5 separate regions of the Homo sapiens genome follow, and all the other regions are linked to region 5. Evidence: promoter capture Hi-C in 16 types of primary human blood cells and fetal thymus (Javierre and others, 2016). All regions are on one chromosome and are shown on one strand. The core of a region is centred on a gene start or on the middle of the fragment in contact, and the rest is flanking DNA. Distances in the headings are between cores, read along the strand shown. Region 1 has its middle 56 kb from the start of SLC4A7. Region 2 has its middle 76 kb from the start of SLC4A7. Region 3 has its middle 98 kb from the start of LINC02084. Region 4 has its middle 37 kb from the start of SLC4A7. Region 5 holds the start of NEK10 (NIMA related kinase 10).

What was found. Contacts are between HindIII fragments. The CHiCAGO score rates a contact against its expected background, and 5 or more counts as called.
Region 1: a fragment that was not itself captured here is called in contact with the fragment with the promoter of NEK10 in region 5 in 1 of 17 cell types (monocytes); the score reaches 8.8 in monocytes.
Region 2: a fragment that was not itself captured here is called in contact with the fragment with the promoter of NEK10 in region 5 in 3 of 17 cell types (monocytes, neutrophils and M0 macrophages); the score reaches 7.1 in monocytes.
Region 3: a fragment that was not itself captured here is called in contact with the fragment with the promoter of NEK10 in region 5 in 8 of 17 cell types (monocytes, endothelial precursors, activated CD4 T cells and 5 more); the score reaches 7.6 in monocytes.
Region 4: a contact is called between a fragment that was not itself captured here and the fragment with the promoter of NEK10 in region 5, in 4 of 17 cell types (monocytes, endothelial precursors, M0 macrophages and 1 more). The highest score is 8.9, in monocytes.

Annotation. Positions count from the first base shown.
Region 1 is chr3:27,539,520-27,542,219 of GRCh38, forward strand. No RefSeq gene overlaps it. Among named protein-coding and RNA genes, the nearest start is that of SLC4A7, 56 kb to the left of the region's middle. The HindIII fragment of the contact is 9,245 bases long and covers 1-2,700 here.
Region 2 is chr3:27,559,144-27,561,843 of GRCh38, forward strand. No RefSeq gene overlaps it. Among named protein-coding and RNA genes, the nearest start is that of SLC4A7, 76 kb to the left of the region's middle. The HindIII fragment of the contact is 4,557 bases long and covers 1-2,700 here.
Region 3 is chr3:27,613,140-27,615,839 of GRCh38, forward strand. No RefSeq gene overlaps it. Among named protein-coding and RNA genes, the nearest start is that of LINC02084, 98 kb to the right of the region's middle. The HindIII fragment of the contact is 5,969 bases long and covers 1-2,700 here.
Region 4 is chr3:27,520,406-27,523,105 of GRCh38, forward strand. No RefSeq gene overlaps it. Among named protein-coding and RNA genes, the nearest start is that of SLC4A7, 37 kb to the left of the region's middle. The HindIII fragment of the contact is 1,216 bases long and covers 650-1,865 here.
Region 5 is chr3:27,368,110-27,370,809 of GRCh38, forward strand. NEK10 (NIMA related kinase 10) reads right to left here and starts at 1,274. Exons shown (of 36, transcript NM_001394966.1): 1 at 1,116-1,274. RefSeq lists an enhancer at 532-1,032. The HindIII fragment of the contact is 2,054 bases long and covers 1-1,481 here.

The DNA.
Region 1 (2,700 bases), core at 103-2,602, 170 kb after region 5:
ACTGCATGCTTTCTGCAAGCAGTCTTGGTTCTCCTTTCCAGCCCACTGCCACTGGGCCGTCTGTTTATGGAAGTTACCCCTAATAAAACTCAATATTGGCCAGGCTCAGTGGCTCACACCTGTAATCCCAGCACTTTGGGAGGCTGAGGCGGGTGGATCACTTGAGGTCAGGGGTTCGAGACCAGCCTGCCCTACATATAGTGAAACCCCGTCTCTACTAAAAAATGCAAAAATTAGCTGGACATGGTGGCGAGCACCTGTAGTCCCAGCTACTTGGGAAGCTGAGGCAGGAGAATTGCTTGAACCCGGGAGGTGGAGGTTGCAGTGAGCCGAGATCGTGCCACTGCACTCCAGCCTGGGCGACAGAGCGAGCCTCGGTCTCAAAAACAAACAAACAAACAAAAAACCTAATACAGTGTCTGACATAATATAGGCATAATGACTCTTCCTGTAATGATAGTGATAGTGGTAATAGTGAAAGAAGATGAGGAGGAGGAGGAAAAGGGAGAATGAGGGGTAATGGAGGGGAAGAAGACAGGGATGAGGAGAAGAATAGGAAAACTATTCCTGGACTAGGTTGGTGGGAATGAAAATGAATAAGAAAGGGTGACTGTGGCCTGTAATCTCAGCACTTTAGGAGGCAGAGGCTGGAGGGTTGCTTGAGCTCAGGACTTTGAGACCAGCCTGGGCAACATAGCGAGTCCCTGTCTCACCCCACTGTAAAAAAAATAATTAAAAAAAGAAGAAAAGATGGATTAGAGAGCTATTAGCAAACATTAATAAGACTATATGCAGTCTGGAAATGGGAAGTGAGGTAAAAGGAAAAGTCAGTTGTGATTCAAGTTTAAAATATCAGTTGAATTGGCTGATTCTTGAATTTCATCATTTGCATCCACCAGTACCAAAAGTAGGAACAACGATGATGAAAAATAACTCTGTGGTGTGTGTGTGAGAGTGTGTGTGTGTGTCTGCGTCTGTGTGTAAGAAGCTAAAGATTTCACTGAGGGCCAGGCGCCGTGTCTCACGCCTGTAATCCCAGCACTTTGAGAGGCTGAGCCGGGTGGCCACCTGAGGTTAGGAGTTCGAGACCAGCCTGACCAACATGGTGGAACCCCGTCTCTACTAAAAAATGCAAAAATTAGCTGGACGTGGTGGCGAGCACCTGTAGTCCCAGCTACTTGGGAAGCTGAGGCAGGAGAATTGCTTGCACCGGGGAGGCGGAGGTTGCATTGAGCCAAGATCATGCTATTGCACTCCAGCCTGGGCAACAAGAGCGAAACTCCGTCTAAAAAAAAAAAAGAAAAAAAAAAAGATTTTCTTGAGTATTCTCCCTATCCAGTGCCAGCTACATAATTTGTGGGACTCCACAAATTTGGTTAAACATCATTCTGGCTGTTTCTGTGAGAGTGTTTTGAAAGAGATTAACATTTCAATCTGTACACTAAGCAAAGCAGTTTGCCCTCCCTAATGTGGGGGGCCTCATTCAGTCAGCTGAAGGCCAGAACAAAGGGCTGACCCTTCCCAAATGAGAGAGAGGTTTTCCCTGACTTAAGATTTAAACTGGCCGGGCGTGGTGGCTCACGCCTATAATCCCAGTGCTTTGGGAAGCCGAGGTGGGCGGATCACGAGGTCAGGAGTTCGAGATCAGCCTGACCAACATGGTGAAACCCCATCTCTACTAAAAATGTAAAAAAATTAGCCAGGCATGGTGGGGCACACCTGTAATCCCAGCTACTCGGGAGGCTGAGGCAGGAGAATCGCTTGAACCTGAGAGGCAGAGGTTGCAGTGAGCCGAGACCACACCACTGTACTCCAGCCTGGGTGACAGAGTGAGACTCTGTCTCAAAAAACAAACAAACAAACAAACAAAGATTTAAACTGAAACATTCTCTTCCTGGGTCTTGAGCCTGCTGGCCATCATACTAGAACCACACCATCAGCTCTCCTGAGTGAGTCTACAGCTTGCCAACTCACTTTGCAGATCTTGAGACTTGACAGCCTCCATAATAGCAGGAGCCAATTCCTTATAATAAATCTCTTTATACACACATATGCGAGTGCATGTGCGTGCACACACACACACACACATACACACACACATACACACACACACACATACACACACACCCCTACATCTTACTGTTTCTGTTTCTCTGGAGAACCCTGACTCCAGAGAAAGTGCAGGATCTTGTGTAGCTGCACTGATCACATATCCATGAAGCCGACCCTGTTCCTATTTTCCCTACTTGCCAACACATACCACAAAGAGAGAGAAAGAAAAAAGTAGGGGAGGAGAAAGAGAAAGAGGTGAGTTAGTGGGAAGAACAAATTGGCTTGGTTTTTATGAGCTATCAATAATCTCTTGCTGTCACTATAAAGCATACATAATTTTTTACATATAGCAATAAAAGTACAGACCACATAAGATAGCTTAGAAATTTCCAGTGTCCTGAGATCATATATTGAAACCTATTGATTTAGAAAAATATTATTTTCATATGCTAAAGAGTAACAGTTCAGAAATAATATCAACTGAACCAATGTCCTTCTTTTGTACAGTTATCTCTGCTCTTATAGGACAACAAGGCTTTATCTAAAACCCTGGGGCCAGATGTCAGAATTCAGAATTATCTTGGATTTTTAGAAAAGTAATACAATGTATGTACTGTGTATTATTTACACTCCCAGCAGACTCTGGGA
Region 2 (2,700 bases), core at 23-2,522, 190 kb after region 5:
CCAGCCGAATGTCCTTGTTAATAGGAAATTTACTCTGAAGTATTTAGGAATAAAGGGGCATGATGTCATAAATTTCCTCTCAAATACTTCAGAAAACTGTAATAATTAGATGTGTGTGCATTCATGTGTATGGAGAGAGAGAGAGAGAAGGAAAGAATGATAAAACAAATGCAGCAAAATGTTAACAATTGGTGACATATGGCAGGTTGGGCTGCTATAACAGAATACCACGGACTAGGTGGCTTACACAACAGAAGTCTATTTTTTTTATAGTTCTGGAGGATGGAGGTCCAAGATCAAGGTACAGCATGATCAGGTTCTAATAAGAACTCTCTTCCTGGCTTACAGATGGCTGTCTTCTTACTGTGTTCTCACATGGCAGGGGGGTAGCAAGTTCTCTGGTGCCTCTTCTTCTAAGGGCACTAATTCCATTATGAGACCCAACTCTCATGACCTCATCTAAACCAAATCACCTCCTAAAGGCACCAGGCTAAATACCATCACACTGAGGGTTGGGGCTTTAACATATGAATTGTGGGGAGACACCATTCAGTCCATAGCAGTGAGTGATGGGTATAGTGGAAATTTTGTACTATTTTTGCTACTTCCTGTAAGTTTAGAATTATTTAAAAATAAGAAGGTAAAAGAAAAAAGAAAAAACATTGGCATAAAGTGTTTTACCCAGGTCACGCAGCTGGTGAGTGGTAGGAAATGGTCTTTTCCTATGTTCTTTAGAACCCACTCTCTTAGATGCTGCACGGACACAGATGCTTTGTGACTTCTCATATCCTCTGGCATGGTCCACCTCCTCAATCATACCGCAGCTGAGGACAAACTAGGCCCTCCCCCTTGGCTAGTGCTCTGCAGCTGGATCAAGCAGACGCTCTTCCAGAATGTCTGGCTTCTCCCACTGCTTCCGGATTTGGATGAAATGCTGTGCTGCAGGGCATAGGATCAGATAGGCAAAAGGAAAGAATGATGCAAGCAGGAATGCAAGGTAGTTTCTGCCTGCAGAGCAAACTTTCGCCAATTAGGGCCGTGTGCAGTGGCTCATGCCTGTTATTCCAGCACTTTGGGAGGCCAAGGTGGGCGGATCACCTGAGGTCAGAAGTTCCAGACCAGACTGGCCAACGTGGCTCTACTAAAAATACAAAAATTAGCTGGGCGTAGTGGTGGGCGCCTGTAATCCCAGCTACTCCGGAGGCTGAGGCAGGAGAATTGTTTGAACTCTGGGAGGCAGAGGTTGCAGTGATCCGAGATCGCGCCATTACACTCCAGCCTGGGTGACAAGGTGAGACTCTGTCTCAAATAAAACAAAACAAAACCGCAACAACAAAAAACACACTTTGGCCAACTGGAAGCGGGAGACAGGGTTTCGTCTACCTTCCTCTCTTCCACGGACAACCTCAATGTGAGAGAAGTTCTGTGTGCTGAGCACGCACCCGCACAACAGAGTAAAACATTACTTTATATTGCAATTTTATATTATTATTGCACTTTATATATTACCTTAATATAGTATTATAATATTATAATTATATAACATTAATATATATTAATATATAATATATACATTATATTATTGCACTTTATATTGCACTTTATATATTACTTTATATTGTGCAATATATTACTTTATATTGTACAACAGAGTAAAACATTACTTTATATTGCTCCACATCTTTTCTTGCCCCACTTCCCCTTTTCCCCATCCCAGCTGCTGTGGGTTTGCACTTCTCAAAGGAAGCATTAGCACTTTAATCCCTGCCTTGGGCTCTGTTTTCTAGAGTACTAGGGCTAATTAGAGAAAAAAAAAAAAAAAAAAAAAAAGGGCCGGGCACGGTGGCTCCTGCCTGTAATCCCAGCACTTTGGGAGGCCGAGGGGAGGCGGGCGGATCACGAGGTCAGGAGATCGAGACCATCCTCGCTAACATGGTGAAACACCATCTCTACCAAAAACACAAAAAATTAGCCGGGCGTGGTGGCAGGCGCCTGTAGTCCCAGCTATTCAGGAGGCTGAGGCAGGAGAATGGCGTGAACCTGGGAGGCGGAGCTTGCAGTGAGCTGAGATTGGGCCACTGCACTCCAGCCTGGGTGACAGAGCAAGACTCTGTCTCAAAAAAAAAAAAAAAAAAAAAAAAGGCCGAGCACGGAGGCTCACGCCTGTAATCCCAGCGCTTTGGGAGGCCGAGGTAGATGGATCACCAGGTCAGGAGATCGAGACCATCATGGCCAACATGGTGAAACCCCGTCTCTACTAAAAATATGAAAATTAGCCGGATGTTGTGGTGCGTGCCTGTAGTCCCACATATTCAGGAGGCTGAGGTACGAGAATCAGTTGAACCCAGGAGGCGGAGGTTGCAGTGAGAATTGCACTCCAGCCTGATGACAGAGTGAGACACTCCGTCTCAAAAAAAAAAAAAAAGAAAAGACTATGCTGTACTGCCCCTAATTTGAGCTGAGTCCTAAAGACAGGTAATATTTTGACAGCCAGAAATTTGAGAGAAAGGCAATACAAAAAGAAGGAATGGCTTTATTTATTTTTGAGACAGCATCTCGCTTTGTCATCCAGGCTGGAGTACAGTGGCATGATCATGGCTCATCACAGCCTCACACTCCTGAGCTTAAGCAATCCTCCCACTTCAGCCTCTTGAGTAGCTGGGACTACAAGCGGGTGCCACCATGCCCAGATGATTTTTT
Region 3 (2,700 bases), core at 124-2,623, 250 kb after region 5:
GCCGAGGCAGGCGGATCATGAGGTCAGGAGATCGAGACCACGGTGAAATCCCGTCTCTACTAAAAATACAAAAAAAAATTAGCCGGGTGAGGTGGCGGGCGCCTGTATTCCCAGCTACTTGGGAGGCTGAGGCAGGAGAATGGCATGAACCTGGGAGGTGGAGCTTGCAGTGACCTGAGATTGTGCCACACCACTCCAGCCTGGGCGACAGAGCAAGACTCATCTCAAAAAAAAAAAAAAAAAAAAAAAAAATGACCATTGTGGTATGGGCTCTGAAAGAGAGGAGATCTTCATGTAAGGCATTAGACTTTGAAGGATGAAGGGGCTTTTGACCAACAGAGATGTGCAGTAGAGTCGCATAACAGGGTTTTGAATGGACCCACTGGGTTCATTCAAGCCACCTTTGAACAGCTGTTGAGTTTGACTGTTCATGGATGGTGGCAAGTATTAAGCATCAGCTTCAAATCTGAGAGGTTAATTTTTCTCATATGCCACAAGGAAGAAACTAATTTTTGAGGGAAGGTTTTAAATGGAACCCAGAAGTCCTTGAGACACCCTCAGAAACTTTGCTTGAGGTTTTGGCAGCATAGGAATTTGCTTGGCCTATTTTGTAAAGTCCAACCCTAGAAACTTGATAGAAAATGACAGTGTAAAGAGACAACCCATCATGGTGGTACAACGGGCCAAATTTGTTTGCTGTACTTGGCCTGAACTTTGAAAAAAAATACAAGAACAGGCTTGTGTGATTGTGTACATCAATATTTTGATCAGACTTATTAAAACTTCTTTGAGTAGGATGATCGTATTTTTCAAAATGAAAAGTCCTGTCACTAGATCCTCGGAAACCTGGATTATTTTTCCATTACCAGTTCTCTCTGACATGTCAAAATGAGTCACTCTAAATTCCTCTACTTCATTTTTCCCATATTTTGTTATCATGAGGGTGAAATAAACTTGCTAAAAAGAAGTGCTGAAAATGTGCAGATGTGTTAATACAGCCTCTTTTCTACCTACTTGCAGTGTGTCCTCTTCATATCTAGTGTTTGCAAGAAAGGCTCACAGTACAGATGTGAAGGTAATGGGAACAACCAAAGTTCAGAAATGGTGTCAATGGACAAAAATATGAGAACTGAAAATAGGGTGAACATGTGGGAGATAATGGTAGGTGAGAGATTGCCAGAAAAATTTGAAAACTATAAGGAACTAAAACTGGTCAAGCTCTGAAATACCAGCAAACAGAAACCAAGAAGGGAGGTTGTCAGAGAAGGAGAAGGTGGGGAAGAGCCCAGAAAGCACATCATCAGATGTCCCTTCATTGTTACTGTCCTCTCTAAGCAATGCTACTCAATCAGGGCAATTTTGCTTCCCAGAGGACATTTGGCAATATCTGGAGATACTTTTGATTACCACAATTTATGCAGGGTTGAGGGGTACTGCTACTGGTATCTAGTGAGTGGAGGAAATAAGGCAAGATTTTCTTCTTGGTCACTTTGCAAAATGGGGACCTCTGGCCAGTGATGCCCCACCCGGGCCTTGCCTGATCATATTACCTCCTTCCTGCTACAGGAGACGGCTCACCCACTCAGCCCACCCAGGCTGAGTCTGGCTTATGCATTAATTCCTGAGCTCTTGTCCCATGCCCAAGAAGAATGAGGATGAACTGACAATCAAAGAGTGAGCAAGGCGGGGAGTTTATTGAGTGAGGAAATAGCTTTCAGCAGAGCAGAGACACCGAGGTGGTCCCCCTACCTGAAGGTGGGAAAGTCCCCCTAATATGACTGAGTCCAGGGCTTCTATGGGCTCAGAATGGGGGAGGGGCAGGCCATAGGTAGTGTTGGAAAAGGCAACATTTGATTGGCTACAAGGCATTATTCAGAAAGAATCAACTGGGGCTGGGCACAGTGGCTCACACCTGAAATCCCAGCACTTCGGGAGGCTGAGGTGAGCGGATCACCTGAAGTCAGGAGTTCAAGACTAGCTTGACCAACATGGTGAAACTCCATCTCTACTAAAAATACAAAATTAGCCATGCGTGGTGGTGCATGCCTATAATCCCAGCTACTCGGTAACCCGAGGCAGAAGAATAACTTGAACCTGGGAGGCAGAGGTTGTGGTGAGCCAAGATTGTGCTATGCACTCTAGCCTAGGCAACAAGAGTGAAACTTTGTCTCAAAATAAGAAAAGAATCAATCGGAAAGGGTGAGCAAACGGGAACAGAAGTTCTCACTGTGAGTTGCAGGTTTCATCTGGGACCAGCAGTCTGGTCTTTCAGCCTTCAGGCTGTTTTTGGCTTGAAGATGGGGTTTCACTGGAGGCCTGTCCCTGTGCATTTGGCTGCCTCCTGTCACTATCAGCAAGAGATGCTGCTAAACATTATACAATTCACAGGACAGACAATAAAGAATTGCCTAGCTTAAAATGTCAATAACGCCAAGATTGAGAAACCTGGCTCTCCACTGTCTGTAGTTACCAGCATCAATGCTTTATCATACTTATTGTTGTTTATCTGATTATAAAAAGTAATCAGTAACATATAAAAAGTAATATGTGTTTAATCTGGAACATTTAATCAACATATTAAATAAAATTTTATTGTTATCCCATCAATTATGTCATAGAAGGTCATAGTCTATTGTCCCCAGGGCCAAAAGTTGTGAAATCAAATGCCAAATGAACCTCAACTGCTGCCAAACACCAATG
Region 4 (2,700 bases), core at 8-2,507, 150 kb after region 5:
GGGATACCAAGGTGGGTGGATCACTTGAGGTCAGGGGTTTGAGACCAGCCTGACCAACATGGTAAATCCCCATCTCTACTAAAAATACAAAAATTAGCTGAGTGTGGTGGTGGTTGCCTGTAATCCCAGCTACTTAGGAGGCTGAGGTGAGAGAATCGCTTGAACTCAGGAGGCAGAGGTTGCAGTAAGCCAAGATCGTTCCACTGTACTCCAGCCTGAGCAACAAAGTGAGACTCCAGCTCAAAAAAAAAAAAAAAAAAAAGGGAAAAGGGCCAGGCCCCATGGCTCACGCCTGTAATCCCAGCACTTTGGGAGGCCGAGGCGGGCGGATCACTGGAGTGCAGGAGTTCGAGACCAGCCTGACCAACATGGAGAAACCCTGTCTCTACCAAAAATACAAAAAAAAAAATTAGCCAGGCGTGGTGGTGCATTCCTGTAATCCCAGCTACTTGGGAGGCTGAGGCAGGAGAATCGCTTGAACCCGGGAGGTGGGCTTGCAGTGAGCCGAGATTGCGCCATTGCACTCTAGCCTGGGCAACAAGAGCGAAACTCCATCTCAAAAAAATAAGTGTCTTCTATATGCCAGGCAATTTTATAGGCACTGGGAAAATTACAGTGAATAAGACAGACTGGGTCCCTGTCCTCAAGAAGCTTGAGTTCCAGTGGGAGAGACAGTTAATAAATAAGTGAATAAGTATATTCTAAAATACACAGAAAGACAAAGGACAGAAAGAAAATGAGGCAAAGGACAGGTGTGGATCATCCTGGAAGGGCTATCTTAGATTGGAGGGTTAAAAGTAGTAGTTTCTGAAGAAGTGACATTTGAGCAGACACCTAAATGAAGAGAGGGTTCAAGTCTTAAAGATTTACTGGAATAGAGTGTTTGAAGCAGAGAAAATAGTAAGTGCAAAGACAGACATGTGCTTGGCCTATTTCCAGAACAGCAAGGATTCCCATGGGACTGGGTAGGAATAAGCAGAGGGACTGCAAGTGAGGTAGCCAGTGATCACATATATATGATTTTATAGGCCTTTTAGATTTTAAGCCATTAGAAGGTTGTGAGCAAGGGAACGGCATTGTTACGTTTTACACTTTAAAAACATCACTCTGGGTTTTGTATAGAAGATAAACAGTAGGAGAGCATGCGTGGAAGTTGGGAGACCGATTTGGTTGACACAGCCTTAGTTGACCTCCAATGAGTCATGCCTTGTGTAATATTCTCCCTTAAGTGCTGACAGAACCTGTGACTTGCTTCCAATGAACAGAATATGGCAAAGATGATGGATGTCATTCTCATGAATATGTTACATTACATAAGACTTCATCTTAGCCGACCAGAGTGTGAGTGATTCTGCTGAAGAAGCAAACCACCATGGTGTGAACTGCTGTGGAGAGGGCCACTTGCAGGGAACTATGAGACACTTCTAGGACCTACAGATAGCTCCCAGCCAAGAGCCAGTGAGAAGCTGGGTCTCCAGTTACACAACCACAAAGAGTTGACTTTACCAACAATTTGAATGAGCTTGGAGTTAAATTCTTCCCTAGTCAATCCCTCAGATGAGAATATAGCAAGCCTACATCTTGATTACAGATTGTGGAGGCTGTAAGCTGAGTATCTGGTTAAGCCATTTTCAGACTCCTGACCCACGGGAACAGTGAGATAATAAATGTGTGTGGTTTTAAGCTATTAAGTGTGTGGCAATTTGTTACACAGCAACGGAGAACCAACACAACCAATTAGGATGTTTCTGTAGTAGTCAGGTGAGAATTGATGGTGACTTGAACCAGGCTAGTAGCCATGAAGATGGGGAGAAATGGTTGGATTTGGGATATGTTTTGAACACAGAGTTGATAGATTTGCCAAAAGCTTGGGTATGTTATATGTGAGAGAGAGAGGAGTCTGACTCCAAGATTGGCTCAATAAATACAAATACTCAGCTCATAAAATTCAATTAATTTATATTTTGCTCACCTTAGAAATCAGATCTGGGCCAGGCGCAGTGGCTCATGCCTATAACCCCGGCACTTTGGGAAGCTGAGGCGGGCGGATCACCTGAGGTCGAGAGTTCGAGACCAGCTTGACCAACATGGAGAAATCCCACGTCTACTGAAAATACAAAAATAGCCTGGTGTGGTGGTGCATGTCTGTAATCCCAGCTACTCGGGAGGCTGAAGCAGGAGAATCACTTGAACCCGGGAGGCAGAGGTTGCAGTGAGCCGAGATCGTGCCATTGCACTCCAGCCTGGGCAACAAGAGCAAAACTCCGTCTCAAAAGAAAAAAAAAAAGGAAATCAGATCTGGTTGAATCCTACTGATGTGCTATAGCACCTCTTCCAGGAATGCACTTGACCGCTTTCTAAACCAGGCTTGTTCTACTAACACTTCAAGTTTCAAATGAAATGATTTCCTTCTCTGAAAACTTTCCCATGCACGTTAGCTAGCTTAACTCTTTACTCCCTTTGCTCAAAAATTTCTTATAGCATTTGTCTCATTAATCATAATTTATATGCACTGTCTCCTATAGCTTTTTTTTTTTTTTTTTTTTGAATGGAGTCTCTTTCTGTCACCCGGGCTGGAGTGCAGTGGCGGAATCTTGGCTCACTGCAACCTCTGTCTCCCGGGTTCAAGCAATTCTCCTGCCTCAGCCTCCCAAGTAGCTGGGATTACAGGTGCCCACCACCACCCCCAGCTAATTTTTG
Region 5 (2,700 bases), core at 24-2,523:
TGGTGAAACCCCTTCTCTACTAAAAATACAAAAATTAGCCAGGCGTAGTGGCTCGCGCCTGTAATCCCAGCTCTCTGGAGGCTGAGGCATGAGAATTGGTTGAACCCGGAAGGCGGAGGCTGCAGTGAGCTGAGATCGCTCCACTGCACTCCAGCCTGGCAGCACAGCAAGACTCCTTCTAAAAAAGGAGTCTTTTTTAGAAGGACTCCATATATATATATATACACATATATATATATCAGTTCAACAATGGTGGGGAAAAAAGTGGATTGGATAGATAGGGCCAGACTAGAATCGGAGAAGCCAGATGGGTGTTGAATTTAACCAACCGATGGTGGAAATTGAGACAGTAAAAATAGAGATGGTAATGTGGGAATTGATTCAACACCTATTAAGAAGGGATAGTCTTGATAATTGATAGAGATGCAGAGGAAGCAGCAGTAAGTGTCATGGATGTCGTCTAGAGTGTAGTTTTTGAAAGCTGAATGGATAGTGATGCCCAAAATAGGGAATCCAAGAGCAGCAGCAGACATGGGGAAGATGGCGTTCAGGGTTGCACATGTGTGGCGTTAACTTGGCAGCTGGATTTTGGGGTCTGACAGTTAGTAGAGCAGGCTAGGTTCCAGTTGGAGACTTTCTAATCATCGTCAGATAGATGGTGCCTGAGGCGAGGAAGTGGAAGGGCTCACCGAAGTAGGGCAGAAAAGCAGAGGGGCAAAGTCAAAGCAGCATCCTGTAAGGAGAAGGCAGAAAAGCGACGCTCATAGAGATGAAGAATGAACCTCCAGAGGCGTCGGAGCAGATTGGAAGAGACACATTCAGGCTCCATTTAACCAGAATAATTCCGTTATCAAAATGGAAGCGCCAAGAAGCATCGTTGATGGCGCTTTCCCACCATCCATCCGTCCAACACAAACCCACCTGCTTTGAAAAGACTGCCTCACGCAGTGACTCACTTACCCACCACAGCCGCATTCTCTACCTCTGCCTCTTGTCTAGTGAAGCTGGCTCCCGAGGCTTCGGGGCCGCTCCACAGGGACCTGAGGACGTCTCCCCGGAGACCCTGACTCAAGCTGCTCGCCGGCACAGCCGAGCACCGGCTCCCGCCTACTCACCGCGCGGGAGGGACGGTCCCTCCTTCAGGCCAATCTCCTTATCATTGTCCCTGCTGCTGTCACCTGCTGCTGCAGACCGGGGGTCCCGTCCAGTCTCAGCCCGTCCCGTCCTCCCCCCAGCCTATTCCCGGTCCCCTCAACCTCAGGGACACCGCGGCCAGCTGCACCGTTGGTTTTCCAATCAAATCCTCCTCCAGGCCACCAACCAGCGCTGGCCAGGCCAATGCCGACAATTCTTCCTCCGCCACCTGGGGCGCCTCAGCCAATCGGGAGCAGCCATGCTGCGCAGTGCAGAACGCCATAGCGACGGATGACGCCTGCCGGGGAATCGCCGTAGCAACCAGAGACGCGCTAGATCCACCACCAAGCTTGCAAGCAGAAGAGGCAGCAAGTGATGCTGAAGGCTGTGCTGCAGCCACTTCACCGGAACCTAGAGCTACCTGTGAACAGGTCTCCTACACGTTGAAGATTTTTCTGGATTTAGGGTGTCTAACCTTTGATGGGAAAGGGCAGCTTCATCTTGGAGTGTTTACTTTCAAGAATTGCTATGGGCTAAAAATCAATTCTCTTTAAAAGCAAAGATTTAATCTGATAAGGAATCAATGCAGCATGCTAAATACCTTTCATATGGCATGAAAACGTCTTCAGTTACTCAAGCCACAGGCAATGAGAATAAGGTGCCACAGCACCGTATTTTTCACAAAAAGAGTGACCTGGGATTCAAGAAACCTGTATAGTATAACTATCGCCAGTTCGTTTTGTGGCTTTGGGCAAGTCACTTCACCTTTTGTGAAAGTCTGGAGCTTCTTTAAAATTTCTGAACTGCATTAGATAACGCTTTAAAAATATACCTGACATTCTGTAACTTTAAATAAATGAAAAATGCCAATCTATTAAGTGCTTAATTTTGTGCCGGGCACGATTTCAAATTCTTTCCTTATTTCACTTAGTTATAAAATGGAGGCACAAGAAGTTTCCTAAGTAGTCCAGTATGGCAGAGCTAGTGATGGAGTCAGGGTAAAACCTACTTCGAGTCTGGTCTTAACCACGATGATGCTCCTTCGACGATTTCTTCGAGTACTGGGCCCTGTTCAACCTCATCTTGGTATCACTAAACGCTCGTGTGTGTGTCTGGTGGTTACATCTTCCCAAACTGGATTTTAAATGAATACAGTGAACCCTAACGTTTTTCTGGTGTGGATAGTAAGTAGGCCCATTGGATTAACAATACTTAAGCTTGGGTAATTGAAAGCATTTTTTAAAATGAAGACGGTCCTATTTTGGAAATGCAGAAAGGCGAGATGAAAGCCAAACTCTGGTGAGTATAGCAGAACTAATTAAACTTCAGAGATCTAAAACAATCAGGATTAATGTTACCAATAAAACAAAACAAGGTGACGGGGCAGGAAGACCGATGCTGAGTAGAAAAAGTATTCTGTACATACATTCTAAATGTTAAGCAGTCGGCCTGGCTTGGTGGCTCACACCTGTAATCCTAGCACTTTGGGAGGCCGAGGCAGGAGGACCACTTGAGGTTAGGAGTTCGAGACCAGCCTGGCCATCATGGCCAAACCCTGTTTCTACT